Linked DNA regions of Homo sapiens: region 1 is linked to region 2. Evidence: promoter capture Hi-C in 16 types of primary human blood cells and fetal thymus (Javierre and others, 2016). All regions are on one chromosome and are shown on one strand. Each heading gives the region's core, a stretch centred on a gene start or on the middle of the fragment in contact. The rest is flanking DNA. Distances are from core to core; before and after follow the strand shown. Region 1 overlaps ATP6V0D2 (ATPase H+ transporting V0 subunit d2). Region 2 holds the start of RBIS (ribosomal biogenesis factor).

The links. Contacts are between HindIII fragments. The CHiCAGO score rates a contact against its expected background, and 5 or more counts as called.
Region 1: a contact is called between a fragment that was not itself captured here and the fragment with the promoter of RBIS in region 2, in 1 of 17 cell types (monocytes). The highest score is 6.0, in monocytes.

Annotation. Positions count from the first base shown.
Region 1 is chr8:86,124,366-86,128,637 of GRCh38, reverse strand. All of the region lies in intron 2 of ATP6V0D2 (ATPase H+ transporting V0 subunit d2), which reads right to left. Among named protein-coding and RNA genes, the nearest start is that of ATP6V0D2, 28 kb to the right of the region's middle. The HindIII fragment of the contact is 392 bases long and covers 1,532-1,923 here.
Region 2 is chr8:85,217,550-85,222,108 of GRCh38, reverse strand. RBIS (ribosomal biogenesis factor) reads left to right here and starts at 1,735. Exons shown (of 4, transcript NM_001099673.3): 1 at 1,735-1,803. It overlaps LOC124901969 (a long non-coding RNA gene), which reads right to left and starts at 1,562. Exons shown (of 4, transcript XR_007060985.1): 1 at 984-1,562. RefSeq lists enhancers at 1-715, 1,199-1,438, 1,749-1,878, 1,488-2,259. The HindIII fragment of the contact is 10,198 bases long and covers 1-4,559 here.

The DNA.
Region 1 (4,272 bases), core at 478-2,977, 910 kb before region 2:
AAAAAGTTCAATATTACTTCTTTGGAAATGTAATCAGTAATCTCAAAACATTGCTTGCCAACTGTTTGTCAAAACTGATAACAGCTTTCCTGTAAAGAGACCTGAGCCCCTTTGCTAGATGGAGGTACCTCAATACTCAGTCTGAACTTTGTCCTTTGGGCCTGAGAGAACATTTAACTTGGTGATGACAACAGCTTCACTGTGTACACACATTGTGACTAATATTTGGCTTGATCACAGGAGCTACATCCCTTTTATTGTTTGTTTGTTTGTTTATTTATTTATTTTGAGATGGAGTTTCACTCTTGTTGCCCAGGCCGGAGTGCAATGATGTGATCTTGGCTCACTGCAACCTCCACCTCCCAGGTTCAAGTGATTCTCCTGCCTCAGCCTCCTGAGTAGCTGGGATTACAGGCACCCACCACCATGCCCGGCTAATTTTTTGTATTTTTCGTAGAGATGAGGGTTTCACCATGTTGGCCAGGCTGGTCTCTGCCCGCCTCAGCCTCCCAAAGAGCTGGGATTACAGGCATGAGCCACTGCCCAGCTTTATTTTATTTTTTTAGAGACAGGGTCTTTGTCATCCAAACCCAAGTGGCGCAATCATAGCTCACCACAACCTCTAATTGCTGGGCTCAAGTGATCTTTCCACCATGGCCTTCCAAAGTGCTGAGATTACAGGCATGAGCCACTGTGCCTGGCCCAGAAAGCCACATCCTTTTATCAGGCCTTGATTGCTACAGGTTTCCTTTCTACCTAGGAGGCCAGATCCACATCCTTCATCTGCAACATGTAATCTAATTCTTAATGACAACCATTTTGTTTTAGGTGACCAGAGAACTATGTGAGATGTTGGCTAGGTAACAATTATACATACAGAATGTACAAGGATAGGGACATATAATGCATGTTCAGGCTGGGAGCTGTGGCTCATTCCTGTAATCTTAGCACTTTGGGAAGCCAAGGCAGGCGGATCGCTTGAGCTCAGGAGTTTGAGACCAGCCTGGGCAACATGGCAAAGGTGCCTCTCTACAAAAAAGACAGAAATTAGCTGGGTGTGGTGGTGACTGCTTGTAGTTCCAGCTACTCAGGAGGCTGAGGTTGCAGTGAGCCATGATCACACCACTGCACTGCAGCCTGGGTGACAGAATAAGACCCTGTCTCAATTAAAAAAAAAAAAGCATTTCAGGGGTCATTGTTCATGGAAAGGATCGGTGTGTGTGTGTGAAAGGCACCTTTCATTTACGAGTTTCATTGAGGAATTAAATAATTTATAAAAGTACACCAAATATATTTCACACTTTTTCAATGTATGAATTTTCAAATGAAAGTTTTCCTTGATTACATTGGTAAACATTTTTTGTTATACTGTGGATTTGTTCAATCCAGCACTAACCACATATGCTTACATGGGGAAACCCTGTCATATCGCGTGATTTCCTAGTCAGCTGAATTTAGAATATCCCCATAAACATTCTTCTCTCTCTTAAAATTTCACATTTTTGGTAACATTTCTTCCTTCTCTGAAGCTTCCCTTTTTTAAATAGAGGAAGTGAAAATTAAAATAATTTGAAAAAGCAAACAATTTTGCTGTCACACTTGTTTTTCCTTGAAGCAAAATAAAATACTGAAAAGTTACTTACAAGTCAGCATTGCCATAATAGCATATTTTAGAACAAGAATGCTGATAACTTTGCATTTCCCAAGCCCTTGGTTGCTCTGGAATTTTAAGAAACCTCTTCAGTATTTAAGATTCTCTACAATCTTGGTCTAACCCAACTGTTTAGATTAAAAATTCTTCAAACTTAACTTGTCCTTTTCTACATTAATGTCTTGGTTCCTACCCTTCTCCAGAGGTATAAAATTTCCCTTCCTTACCAATCCTTTAAGGCCATATTCTAGTATCATATTTTTCATGAAGCTTTTCAATTGTCTCCAGCTAGAGGTGATATCTTTTTTCTTTCTAAATTTCTGTATTTATATTTATCCTGGGGTGAAATAAATTTTCTATATACATTGGCAGTAGCAGTGATGAACATAAGGACTAGTTAGCTCATTCATTCACAAATATTTAATACATATTTAGTGTGACATAAGGCTTGGATTCCAGTACTAATTCTGCCACTGTAGAGCTGTGTGCTTTTGAGTAAGTCGTTTTACATGTTCATTTCAAACATAGTTATTTACAGATAATAAATAACTATAGGGGAGTGGGAGAGGGAGAGCATCAGGAAGAGTAGCCAACGGATGCTGGGCTTAATACCTAGGTGATGGGATGATCTGTGCAGCAAACCACCAAGGCACACGTTTACTTAAGTAACAAACCTGCACATCCTGCACATGTACACCTGAACTTTATACTATATACAAAAAGATATATATATATATATATATATATATAGGCTGAGCACGGTAGTTCACGCCTATAATCCCAGCACTTTGGGAGGCTGAGGCAGGTGGCTCACTTGAGGTCAGGAGTTCGAGACCAGCCTTGCCAACATGGCAAAACCCAGTCTCTATAAAAATACAGAAATTAGCTGGTCATGATGGTGCATGCCTGTAATCCCAGCTACTCAGGAGGCTGAGGCAGGAGAATCACTAAAACTCAGGAGGTGGAGGTTGCAGTGAGCCAAGATCACACACCTGCACTCTAGCCTGGGTGACAGAGTGAGACTCTGTCTCAGAAAAACAAATAAGTTAATGAATTAAATTAAGTAAATAATACATAAATTAAAAATATATTAAATAAAATATATCTTTATATATTTATGCAAAAATTATAATAGATTACATTTTAAAAGGACAAATTGTGGACAATACATGTATGATCTCACTGTTCTAAAACAAACAATAAGCCCAACTATGCATATTTATATTTGTGTTTAAATATAAACACATGCACATATAAAAAAACATTTTTCACAAGGAAAAAGTTTAGAAAGATATGCATGAAAGTTTTGAGTGGTTACCTCTGGGCTCTGTGACATGAATTCTGAAGTATAGTCTTTACTCAATCCATCGTCTTATTTCTAAAAAGCCAACAATACTAGTACCACTCCATAGGGTTGCTGTGAAAATCTATTAAATTTAATACAGGAAAGTGATTATAAAGGTACTAACTTGTGTAGTGAGCACAAAATACATTTTAGTAAAAAACCTCTTTCATTTTTTAAACACACGTGCTTATTTTCAGTTAAAAAATAAACAAGTTAAAATAAAACTAGGACAATGGATAAGTGTGGATTTCAGTCTCCATCCTGAAAATGAAGGTTATGGGACAGTCTCAAATCTCTTAAACTAAACAACTGGGGAAGGAGTAGTGTTTTGGAAAACAGGTTATTGGGATCAATATCGCCTCCTGGTGGTTGATTGATGCCTTGCCATACAGTTGCCCAAGCCCACCTTGGTACTGATTTGTATCCCACTCAAAACTGTTGTTGTAGCGATGGCATCCTAAGCTCTTTCACATCCATTACCTTAACATCCTCAACCTCAGACGCTGATTTTGCTGACATGTGGCATCAGCAACCCAACAACAGTAGTGGTGGGGCCTGTGTTTTCTGTTCTCTCTGCTGTTTGCCTCTCTCCAGCCATGTCCACCTACAAACGCTTAGCCTTTCAAGCCTTAGCTTGGGCATCACCTCCTTCATGCCACCTTTTCTCACTCACACAGGTGAACATTATACTCAAATACACAAATAAAATTAGCTACATTTTTTGAGCATGTGTATGGATGTGTGGGTATATTTATATATTGTATAAGTATACATTTTTTTCAATCAGCCAGTTTCAGGGGAGTGTGATCTATGTAGTCACAGAGGACTCAATGCTTGGTTTAATTCTCTGCTGCTGTTCTCTTGAAATCACTGAACATATTTTAAACAAGGAGCTTTATATTTTGCACCGGGCCTCACAAACTATGTATCTGGTTCTGTTTTTAAATTAAACTCACAACTCTATATTGTATATAATTACGATCCCTGTACTACAGATGAGGAAACCAAGGCTTTGAGTGACTAAGGGACATTTTTGGGGTCCTACAGTTGGTATATTGTAGACCCAGTTTAGAGTCTACCTACTGGTTATAAGAATTTCTCACCTGTATCAGGGTCGCCTGGAGGGCTTTTAGAAGAGCAAATTCATTGACTGCATTCCAGAACCTAGTAAATCATGATTTTTAAAAGCATGATCTTAGAATCTGCATCTTAAGTAACTCTTCCATTGGTTAATGAACAAAGTCTATATTCAATTCGTTTCTAATCTTGGAGTCTC
Region 2 (4,559 bases), core at 486-2,985:
TAATTAAATGATTTATTGCAAAAATTGCTTATCTTTCTGTAAGCAGGCAAGTGCCTGGTTTGTTGGAAAGAGGACTTGACCAAGTGCTAACCAATGTGGATTTGCGAATTATCAAGTTTACAAAACCTTTTTAAAAACTGTTTTAAAAAAATGCTTAGTTTTACAAAACCGTCTGGCTTTGTCAATTTCTAGTTAGTTGTGTGGCTGCCAGCACACGGCTTAAACTCTGAACCTTAGTAGTATCATCACTTGCAAAACAGGAGTGGTTTTATCACCTTATTTTGAGCATAGTGTAGGCTGAAATCTTTTGTAAGCTACAAAATGGCATATAAATGTCAGTTTTACTGACAGAGCAGGAGCACCGTCATCTCGGACAAACACCGCCATTTTTAAGTTCCAGCTCCCTTTCTAGCCTCATGAATTTCAAGGAAATCACTTCTCTTCTAATTACAAGCAGATAGAAAGAGCAGTCAGTAAAACACAGATAAGACAGCTCAGGCAGAGTGAAGTAGGGGGAAAATCTCTTGGCTAACTACCAAACCTCACCCTCATACAATGAGCCCCAGTGAAACAGTGGGCCTTAATAAGCACATTCCTTTCCCTTCAGGTGTACTAAGATAGGGAAGCTAAAAGCAGACTTTTAGCTGCGGGTATGCCTGCAGCTGCAGAAAGATGTATGGGAACAGACACACAACTCTCCCTCCCAGATAAGCACAGCAAAGAGACACAGAAGCAGTCCAAGCCTCTGTTAAACTCTCCCACCCTGAATCCTTAAAAACTCTTAGTCTGTAAGAGAGTGTGGCTCTGACCTAACTTGGCCAGCTGCCAGTCTCAGGTTTATTTAAAATAAACCTGTCCCTGTTGACTATAAAGCCACCCTTCGTGCTTCTCTCCTCTATTTAATTCTTACATCTACGTTTGTTTGAAATCCAGCTTTTCCTATGACCTCAACAAAATAAATAGAGGCACATGTGAAAACTTACCTTTAATAGGGTTATTCTCTTGGAAGAATTGAGTCAATTTTCTTAAAGCAGAAAAACCTAGACGACGTTATGGGTTGAATGTTTTAAGTTCCTTGGTACCTGTTTTATTTGTATATTTTATACTGTGCCTGGTTTCTTGTGCCTTTGCAGTGCTGTCAAAAATTCTCTTTTTGAAACAAGGAAGCTGCAGTGAGAAAAACATTTCTAACTCGCAGTGCATTACAAATCTTCCTTTCGGAGATTATAGCTCTAGATCTTTTCCAACCTCAAGGCTCCCTCTACCGCCAGCCGAGCCCTGGAAACCACCCAGAGGTGCACAGCGCCTCCTCCTGGGAGAGTGGCAGAGTCAGCCGGGAGTCCGCGGCGGAGCGCTGACCTCCGGTGCGGCGGTCTTCACTGTGCAGTCTCAGAAGCACCTCGGGAAGTTTCTGCACAAGTACCCACGCCAGCAAGGGGAGACTTGGCTGGCTCCATAACGCCCCAAACTCGCTTGAGCTGAGGATAAGTCTGCAACACCGCGGAAGACAAGGGATGCTAATGAGACTGGACTTCCGAACCTCGCTCTATGGGTGGGGCTTCGCTTTTTCACTGCACCTTGCTCCTTAGACTTGGCTCTATGGGCGGGACTACGCCAGGTGGGTGGGAACTCACTCTATGGGCGGGACTTCCGCCTATGGACGGGGCTCCGTTCGGTGGGCGGAGCTACGGCTCGTGAGCGGAATCCTGACTGGTTCATCCTCCCCGGAACTTCCTAGACGCCGTACGTGCCAGATGGTGTTACCTGGAGCTTAAAAAGCTGCACGCAAGTGTTAAACTTCTGGTGAGAGTTTAATAAATTAAGTTTTCTGGAGGGCTGGCGTGAAGTTTGCAGGGGTCGGGGTTGGATTGGGCCGGTCTCGTACCGCTGTGGCCTGTAGGCTCGGTTCCGTCGCGCTCTGCCTCAGGCAGCCCTACTGGGTAGCAGGCCCGAAACCCCGGTGCTTGTTGGGCTTTCATCTCCTGACGGGGTCCCAGTTTTGGGCTGTGTCTTTCATGATCAGTTTCTACGTGGTTTTCAGAGAATTTCCCTCCACTCGCACACCCCCACTAGTGTATTACTTTCTCCACGAACCTTGCTCAGGTCTACAGCTCTAGTAAACCTCTCCACTTGTAGACTGTCTGTTCATGGTCCATGTGTATATTATAGGTAGTGTCATGTACAATATACCTATCATGTCTGTGTATGTTCCGTATATATACTGTCATTATTTATGTTCCATATATATTTTTTGTGTATAAAATATAGGTTCTCTACCACACGTGGCATATAGCAATTGATTTATACTAGATGAATGATTGGATTTTGGTTACTATTGTAATTATTTTATTTTAATTTTTATTTATTTATTTTTGAGACTGAGTCTCAGTCTGTCGCCCAGGCTGGTGTGCAGTGGCGTGATCTCGGCTCACTGCAACCTCCGCCTCCTCGTGTCTCAGCCTCCCGAGTAGCTGGGATTAGAGGCGCGCGTCACCACGCCCGGCTAATTTTAATTTTTTTTAGTGGAAACGGGGTTTCATCATGTTGGCCAGGGTGGTCTCGAACTCCTGGCCTCAAGTGATCCGTCCGCCTCGGCCTCCCAAAGTGCTGGGATTACAGGCATGAGCCACCGCGCCCGGCTTGGAATGATTTTAGAGTACTTCATTTGAGGGGTTTTATTATGTGTATTTTATTTTTTGCATCTTCTGTAATAACCATGTATTTTCTACTGCATTCTTTTTTAAGTAGGAGGAATACTGTTGGCGTTCAAAAGCATTGCTGTTTCAGTTAAGTAGTTCCTTAATTACTTACAATGTAGTAAGGCTACATTGAAGGAAGATATAAATTTCAGTCAAGACTACGACTGAGCAAAGGTAAAAAAGGAAGAATGTTCAAGGTGTCTGTGCAAGAGAACAGTTAGACCAGGCTGGCTAGAGCAGTGTTTATAGGGACGTAACAGGAGATATGTGTGGCAGATTTAGGGTAGATTCAGAGTGCCAGTAATATGCCAAGCCAAGGCACGTTGCCCCTTATACATTGGGAAAACTGTTGAAGGTTTTTAACATTGGGAAGGTCGATCGCATAGCTTGGTGCCAGATAGCCACTGTGCAGATGGCTTAAGCCAGGAGTTGGCAGACTTTCTGTTAAAGGTCGGACACTAAATATTTTGGACTTTGTGGGTCATAGTTATAGCAGGAAAGCAGCCATATCAGCATATGATTGAATGGACATAACTGTATTCCAATTAAACTTTATTTTTTAATTAATTAATTTTTTTGAGACAGAGTCTTGCTCTGTCACTCAGGCTGGAGTGCACTGGTGCAATCTTGGCTCACTGCAACCTTCGCCTTCCGGATTCAAGCGATTCTCCTTCCTCAGTCTCCCGAGTAGCTGGGATCACAGGCATGTGCCACCACGCCCAGCTAATTTTTGTATTTGTAGTAGAGACAGGGTTTCACCATGGTGAGGCTGGTCTCTGCCTTCGCCTCCCAAAGTGCTGGGATTATAGGTGTGAGCCACCGCGCCTGCACTTGGCCTCCAATTAAACTTTACTACAAGGACAGGTGCTTGGCCTGATTTGGTCCATGGGCATAGTTTGACAAACAGTGGTTTGAACAAATGGACCTAGGGACTTCAGCAGTAATCCAGTCCTGAACTAAGCAATACTATACCATTTTTTTGTATAGCTTTTATATTTATACATGAAGTGTAATATCACATAACGTTAGCTCTGATCTAGTCTGCCTGGCTGTAAGTCCTGGCATCTCCTGGTTATTGACAGTGTGACATTGGGCAAATTAACTTCTCTTTGCGTCAGTTTTTTAATTTTAATCTTTAAAATGGGGATAATAGTACTTCTTACAAAGGGTTGTAAGGAGTAAATGAGTTAAAGCACATAAGTGTAGTGCTTGTACATATAATAAAAGCTCAATATGTGTTAACTTAATATTTTAAAAATTATTCCTCATATACATTATTAAAGGCAGATCTGAGAGATGTTTTAAGGTAGAATTTACTGGCTTAATGCATCTCTAGCTACGGAGGAAAGACAGTATCCAACACTTCAAGGCAAGGGCCGTTCACATAGAGGTAATATGGAAGTCATAAAAGTAAATTAAGGGAGAGAGGGAGGTAGGAAATGGAGGATTAAGGACTGATTTTGATGGGATGCACAGGAGAGAAAGTGGGGAGAGTAAAAAGGAATAAAAAAGAAGTCAAGAAGGAGGCAGAATCAGTCTCTAAAGTATGATAGGAACCAGAATAGCATAGTAGTATATAGACTAACAGAAGGATGGGTGGTGAGGTACTGCTGAGAATAACAGTTATTGTGTTGATGATATTAGTGAATTCAACCAGCAGATATTAATTGGATGCCTCCTATGGGCCCATTACTGGGGATACAGGGAAGAATTAGATACATACTCTGTACTCAAAGAGCAGAAAATCTACTAGGAGTGAAAGACTTGGAAATAATATATGCACCAACTTTAAAAATAATCAAGAGTAAGATAGAATTTTTTAGATTTAATTGGTACCTTTAAAAACTTAAAATTGACTTA